Linked DNA regions of Homo sapiens: region 1 is linked to region 2. Evidence: promoter capture Hi-C in 16 types of primary human blood cells and fetal thymus (Javierre and others, 2016). All regions are on one chromosome and are shown on one strand. Each heading gives the region's core, a stretch centred on a gene start or on the middle of the fragment in contact. The rest is flanking DNA. Distances are from core to core; before and after follow the strand shown. Region 1 holds the start of CARD10 (caspase recruitment domain family member 10). Region 2 holds the start of GCAT (glycine C-acetyltransferase).

Region 1 (3,555 bases), core at 440-2,939, 290 kb before region 2:
TGAAAACAGTATCACGAAGAAAGAGCCATCTTAAGCATGTGGCTCTGAACTTGGAATAACGGCACTAGCACCCAGCCCCACCCTCAGCCTACCGTGGGGCCCTGGGCAAGCCCCTTCAGCCTCTCCATGCCTCAGTTTCCCTTACTGTTCAACAGGCATAGTGGGAGCGCCTCCCTAACAGGGATGGGGAAAGGAGCCTGTGCACTGGAGTCCGAGGTGCCAGCATCCACCGCAGATCCACTCACCGAGGATCATGGAGCAGCGCTGGGCGGGTTCCTGGCCCGTGAGCAGCGTGAAGTGTTCGGGGTAGTAGAACTCCAGGGCTTCCAGGAAGGCCTCATAGCCCCTCTTGCCACGGCAGCGCAAGATGTCCATCAGGCGCCCTACAGAGTAGTGGGGGGATGTACCCAGGGTCTAGGGGAAGGCCTCCCCAGGTGCCTGGTTGCTTCTGCCCCCACCATGCTCCAGGCCCACGTTCCCCAGATTTTTGAGCCAGTGACACACACAGGGGCCTGTCCCAACACATCAGGGAAGAGAAGAGAGCCATTCTGCCACAGCCAGGGGAGCACATTCCCTCATGACTCCTGGGCTCCCAGAGCTCCCCAACACCCCCCACAGACACAGATGCCGGCCCGCAAATGCAGCCTGCCTTTTCAATGGCACAGAGAAGCCCCCTCTATCCCCAGAAGCAAAGAAAATACTTCTCCCATTGGCCATGCCTGAAATTCCACCATTAAAGACCATTCCATCATGCCTTTTTGAGTTCTGGTTCAAAGGCACACCCTGTGGGAGTGGGGACCCACGTAAAGCTGAGACGGATCTTGACACTTGAAAAAGGACTCCCCCAGGAGTGTATGGTGCACAGAGGAGGGGACAGACAGAACTCGGAGATCAAAGAGCGCAGGAAAGGTGCCAAGTCCACCGGCTGTGACCGGGAGGTCCCAGGCCCAGCCGGCCCTGGCAGCCACATCCAACCTTCTGCTCTAATGTGGACCCAGGAAGTGGGAGAGAACCCCAAGAGACAAAACTCTGACCCCGGTGTGGGCAACGCGGACCGCCAAGGCGCAGTGGTGGGTGGGGAGGAGGCAGGCTGGTGGGCATACCCAGCCGGCCCACTCTACTGATGCGGAGACCGAGCCCCAGGGCAGCAGAGCCCTAGCTTCGCGCTACACGGCTGTGGGCGCTGCGCCCCAGGGCACGGCCGGCCCAGGTCGTGGCCCACTCGGGACCCGCGGCTCACCGGTGCGGTTGACGCGGCACGGGAAGCGGTAGGTGCTCAGCACCTCCTCCTCGTCCTGCTCGTCGATGACCCGGCACTGGCGCAGATACGGCGTGAGCTTGGCCGGGTTCAGGGCGCGAGCCAGCCGATGCCGGACGCCCTCGATTCGCTCCCACAGCGCGTCCTCCTCCGCCTCAGACCCCGAGCCGGCCCCGGCCTCCTCCTCGGCCTCCCCCGCCTCCGCCCGGCCCGGCATGGCCGTGTCCTCAGGGTCTGCGGGCAAGAGGCGCACGGGGGTCGACCAGGGCTCCCTAGGGCTAGATGTGCGGCCAAGCACCCCCGGGGCGTCGTCCGCAGACCCGCCGTCGGGGGCGCGCCCCGAGCTCCCCGCGACTCACCCCGCACGCTACAGTCGCCTCGGGCTCCCGGGTCCGCACTCGGGCGGCGGCTCCGCCGGCGCAGGGGGGCGGTGCCCGTGGCGCCCCCGGCTCCGCCCCCGTCCCCGCAGCCTCCTGGGCTGCCCGGGCCTCCCCACATTGCCGCCCGCCCCGGGTCGTGCGTCCGGCCCCCGGCCACCCCGCGCGTCCGTCTGCACGCCCTCCCTCCCGGCCGTCCGGCTGCGCCTCCCCCTGCTTCCTGTTTCCCGCCGGCTCTCCAGCCCGGCTCGGCGGGGTCCTGGCCGCCCGCCCACACCTGCCCGGCCTCTGGGCGGGGCGGGGGCGGGCAGGCGCGCTCACACCCCCCGCGCGCCGCGACACACCTTCCCCGGGCCACGCGCATCGCCTCCCCACGCCCACAGCGCGCCCGCCCGTGCGGGGCTAGCCGCTCACGCCCGGCGCAGCCCGCGGGCACTCAAGCTGGGCTTGCCCTTCTCGGGTCCCCACATGCACTGCGGGCGCGGGAGCTTCCCTGGAGCGCAGGACAGCCCCGCGGGGGACAGCAATGGGCAGAGGTCATGGGGGCTTTCTGCAAGATGGGGGTCTGAACCTGCAGGGCAGCACTGCCAACTCCCCTCTTACGCAAACTCCCGTGGCACTTGAGGACCAGGGACCCCACAATTCTCAAAGGGTATTCCTCCAGGTGTTGGTCCCAGAGATGCTGGGGGCGGGCTGTGACTAGCCATCCATACTCCCGCTCCTGCCTGGGAGGCCGGTGGTGTCTTACCATGATACTGGCCGAGTCTACACGGTATCTGCTGGTGCATGCGATACAGTCTCGCTATGCATTAGAAGCTGCCAGGTACCTGCTGCCAGGGAGGAACAGAGGAGGCACAACCGGTACAGGAAAGAGGTGTGAGCTCCCTAATCGCCTTCCACAACTTCTGAATTAGATGCCGTGGACATATGTATTACTTATCCAAAGAATTAAGGTTTCAATCAATAAAGGCTCTGAAAAGCCCTGCTTAAATTAAGGCCGGGGGCGGTGGCTCATGCCTGGAATCCCGACACTTTGGGAGACCGAGGCGAGTGGATCACCTGAGGTCAGGAGTTCGAGACCAGCCTGACCAATATGGCGAAACCCCATCTCTACTAAAAATATAAAAATTAGCTAGACGTGGTAGTGCGCGTCTGTAATCCCAGCTACTCGGGAGGCTGAGGCACGAGAATCGCTTGAACCCAGGAGGCGGAGGTTGCAGTGATATCGTGCCACTGCACTCCAGCAGCCCGGGCAACAGAATGAGACTCCCCCTCAAAAAAAAAAAAAAAAAAAAAAAAAGCCCCAGCAGTAAAGAAACAGATTTAACTTTATATATCCTGGTGTCCTTTTCCAAACTTAATTAACCACAGCCTTTTTTTGGTTTGCATTTGTTGTACATTTGTTTTTGTTTTGGGTGTCACCTGTTTACATGCAGAAGAAATGCTTTGGGAGAACTGAATTCTAGTGCAAATTCCTCAATTAACAAAGGAGGAAGCAGAGCTCAGAGAGGGCAAGGAACTTGCCCAAATTCACACAGCGAGGCCACAATGGGAATAGGCCGGAGCCCAGCCCCTGGCCTCTGTCCTCTCCAAGCCCCGAGTCCAGGCACACACCAGACCTCCCTTTCAATACGTCCTTCCCCTCTCTGTGGCCTTGGTTGCCCTCCCACGCAGAGCGGCAGCTCCTCCCACCAGCAGCCCTACTCCTCGTGAATATTTTTAACTTGGCCAGCAGAGCGGGATGGACGCCTTGGAAAATGAGGCTATGGTTAATTATTTTTTCATCGAGAAGCTAAGCAGGGCCTAAAGATAAGGCACAGAAGCCAAGAGGTCTCTGCAGATAAGTGGACAGAGAAGTGAGGGCACACTGGGTCTGAACAGGCAGGTAGCTGGGTACACCGAGTGCCCCTGGTGCCCAGC
Region 2 (3,519 bases), core at 394-2,893:
ATTTTTCCTTAACCAGTTGTGCAAGGACAGCAACAACCAATCTAATGATGAGAATGTACTTATATTTTGTTTTGCTATTAACCTACTTACGGGGTTAGGGATTTGCGGGGGGGGCTTGTGTGTTTTGTTGGCTTGTTTGCCATGAAGGTAGATGTGGGTGGGGAGAAGACACAAGGCAGTTTGTTCTGGCTAGATGAGAGGGAACCCAGGAATTGTGAGGTTAGCAGGAATATCTTTAGGGTGAGTGAGTTTTCTTTGAGTTGGGCACCCGTTGTGAGAGTTTCAGAACCTTTGGCCAGCAGGAGAGAGGTGGTAGGGAGCAGCCAGCCGGCAAAGGAAGGAGGGGGAAAAAAACCGCCACCGGGCTGACTTCCACCTCCCAGTGGTGAGCAGTGGGGGCCCAAACCCAGTTTCCTTCTCATTTTTGTTAGTTTGCGCTTTCGGCCTCCCTATTTTCTTAGGGAAGGGGAGTGGGGTCCAAGTGACAGCTGGATGGGAGAAGCCATAGTTTCTCCCAGTCAGCTAGGATGTAGCCATTGGGGGATCTTTGTGGCTTCAGCAAATTCTCTTGTTAAACCGGAGTGAAAACTTCAGGGGAAGGGTGGGGAGTCAGCCAAGTGCCTCAGTGTGCCCTGTTGAAACTTAGGTTTTTCCACGCAATCGATGGATTGTGTCCTAGGAAGACTTTTCTTTTCCTCTGGATTTTTGTTCCTCCTGTACAAGAGGTGTCTTTGCTTGGTTTGGTGGGGCTGCGGCCACTTAAAACCTCCCGATCTCTTTTTGAGTCCTTTATTATAAGTAGTTGTAGCTGCGGGAGGGGGAGGGGGAGTGGGCGGGCAGTGGATAGTAAGACTTACTGCAGTCGATTTGGGATTTGCTAAGTAGTTTTACAGAGCTAGATCTGTGTGCATGTGTGTGTTTGTGTATATATACATATCTAGGGCTAGTACTTAGTTTCACACCCGGGAGCTGGGAGAAAAAACCTGTACAGTTGTCTTTCTCTTATTTTTAATAAAATAGAAAAATCGCGCACTTGCGCGTCCCCCCCCCACCCCCTTTTTTAAACAAGTGTTACTTGTGCCGGGAAAATTTTGCTGTCTTTGTAATTTTAAAACTTTAAAATAAATTGGAAAAGGGAGAAACTGAGCGGTGTATTTTTCCTCACTTTGAAGACTGGAGAATGAATGCGGAGCGGTTAGGCGGGCAGGCAGTGGGGACATCTGGGGCGTTTGCACCTGAGAATGGCGGGGGAGGGTTCAGGAGCTGGACAGAAGCCAGGAATCCTTAGTCCCGGAGGCTGCGGAACGTGCCTTAGCCGGCTTCTAGGCTTCTGCCTTTGGGGTCCAGAGGGTACCCCATTTCCGGCCGAGAGGTGAGTACGTGGGAATGCGGTGGGGAGTCTGGTGGGCTTGGCCCTGACGCGACTTCCTCCGCCCCCTTCCCTCCCCTCTGCCATCCGGACTTCGGCAGTCTCAACTTACAAGTCAAGCCTCTCGGTCCCTGGCGGATCCCGCCAGGCCCCGCCCACCCGTCCTAGGCCCGCCTCCCCGCCTTTTTAAGCGAGCCCCCCTAGCTCCGATTGGCTGCTGGAGCCCGGCCCCCGGCCACGCGACCAGGCTGCGTCCGCGATGCGCACGGCTCCCAGGCAGGCAGGCGCGCTCGGGCGAGGTAGGAGCGATGTGGCCTGGGAACGCCTGGCGCGCCGCACTCTTCTGGGTGCCCCGCGGCCGCCGCGCACAGTCAGCGCTGGCCCAGCTGCGTGGCATTCTGGAGGGGGAGCTGGAAGGCATCCGCGGAGCTGGCACTTGGAAGAGTGAGCGGGTCATCACGTCCCGTCAGGGGCCGCACATCCGCGTGGACGGCGTCTCCGGAGGTAACGCTCCGTTCCGGGAGTCGTTCCAAGACCTTTCCCGAGCTTGCGCTGGAATGGAGGTCCTGGAGGTGGGGGTGGGCGGCTCCTACACTCTTAGCTACTGTTCCCCTTCGCATCTCTCAGGGCGACTTTATGGCTTCCTAATATTGACTCTTGCCTGGTTAAACCCTTTTGACGGAGGGAGGCGATTTGCCCAGCAAGAAAACCCGCATTTCTTGAGCGGCTCCTTTGTGAAGGTCTCTACCAATTGTTGCTGCACGTGAACTCCTGCTAACTTCTAGACGCAGGAATGACTAATTCCACTTTACAAACGAAGAGGCTGAAATCCACAGATGTGAAATGGCTTGCCCAAAAGCCCCCAGCTAGCTGCAGGCAGCGCTGGAATATTGGAGCTGGAACATTGCCTGACTGGCCAGAGAGGACAGCTTGCTGGGTAAACTCATAGCAAGCAAGGGGTCCCAGGGCTGCCACAGAAATCACATGATGAGTTGGCCCTGCCAGGTCTCCCTCATTTCTTTCTTTCCTTTTTTTTTTCTGAGATGGAGTCTCGTCTTGCTCTGTCGCCCAGGCTGGAGTGCAGTGGCGAGATCTCGGTTCACTGCAACCTCTGCCTCCCGGGTTCAAGCGATTTTCATGCCTCAGCCTCCCAAGTAGCTGGGACTACAGGCACGTGCCAGCACACCCGGCTAATTTTTGTATTTTTAGTGGAGACTGGGTTTCACCATGTTGGCCAGGCTGGTCTCGAACTCCTGACCTCAAGTGATCCTCCCGCCTCAGCCTCCCAAAGTGTTGGGATTACAGGCGTGAGCCACCACTCCCAGCCCTCCCTCATTTCACTCTAACCAGTGGTTACACCTGACTTATTCGTGTCAGGCCTCAGGTGAGTGGTAATCATCAACAAGCTCCCAAAGCTGCCTTCTGCCCAGGAAATAGGCATAGAACCCTTGGTGCTGTTGCACTCATTTGTAAAACAGAGGTCCCAGGTAATCCCTTCTCTCCCTCAGGGGAAGCTTAGAGCCGGTCAAAAGATGGGAAATTAGGAGACCCAAGTTCTCATCCTGTTTTTGCCTTTCCCAGGCTGTGTGAACTTTCCCCTCTGGCTGTTTGCTCCTAAGGTCAGCTGTGTTCACTCTGGGCTTTAGAATTCGGGGACTGGTATCTCAGGCACCTACCTTTGGGGGTGTGATTCTGGCAGCAAAGTAAACTGTGGAGTTCCAGGACTGCAGCAGGCGTCTGATCCAGCCCTCTTCTTTAACCCTCAAGGAAACCAAGGGGTCAGATAAGGAGTCAGTGGTGGTCTTCAGGCACAGGAGAAGCCTGTGAGGAAGGGCTGAGTTCCTCCTTGGGTAGAATGTGATTCAAAGCCAGAGTTTAGGCTGGGCACAGTGGCTTGTGCCTGAAATCGTAGCACTTTGGGAGGCCAAGGCAGGAGGATTGCTTGAGGCTAGGAGTTCGAGACCAGCACGGACAACATAATGAGACCCCATCTCTACAAAAAATAAAAAAATTTAATCGGGCATGGTGGCACGCACCTGTAGTCCCAGCTACTCAGGAGGTTAAGTGGGAGGATTGCTTGAGCCTGGGAGGTTGGGGCTACAGTGAACCATGATTGCACCACTGTACTCCAACCTGGGCGACAGAGCTAG

What was found. Contacts are between HindIII fragments. The CHiCAGO score rates a contact against its expected background, and 5 or more counts as called.
Region 1: a contact is called between the fragment with the promoter of CARD10 here and the fragment with the promoter of GCAT in region 2, in 2 of 17 cell types (neutrophils and M1 macrophages). The highest score is 6.6, in neutrophils.

What each region holds. Positions count from the first base shown.
Region 1 is chr22:37,517,726-37,521,280 of GRCh38, forward strand. CARD10 (caspase recruitment domain family member 10) reads right to left here and starts at 1,690. Exons shown (of 20, transcript NM_014550.4): 1 at 1,241-1,690; 2 at 246-383. The coding sequence starts at 1,475. The HindIII fragment of the contact is 26,549 bases long and covers 1-3,555 here.
Region 2 is chr22:37,806,291-37,809,809 of GRCh38, forward strand. It overlaps GCAT (glycine C-acetyltransferase), which reads left to right and starts at 1,644. Exons shown (of 9, transcript NM_014291.4): 1 at 1,644-1,873. The coding sequence starts at 1,678. It overlaps H1-0 (H1.0 linker histone), which reads left to right. Exons shown (of 1, transcript NM_005318.4): 1 at 1-1,142. RefSeq lists an enhancer at 1-30 and a silencer at 1,459-1,748. The HindIII fragment of the contact is 19,611 bases long and covers 1-2,881 here.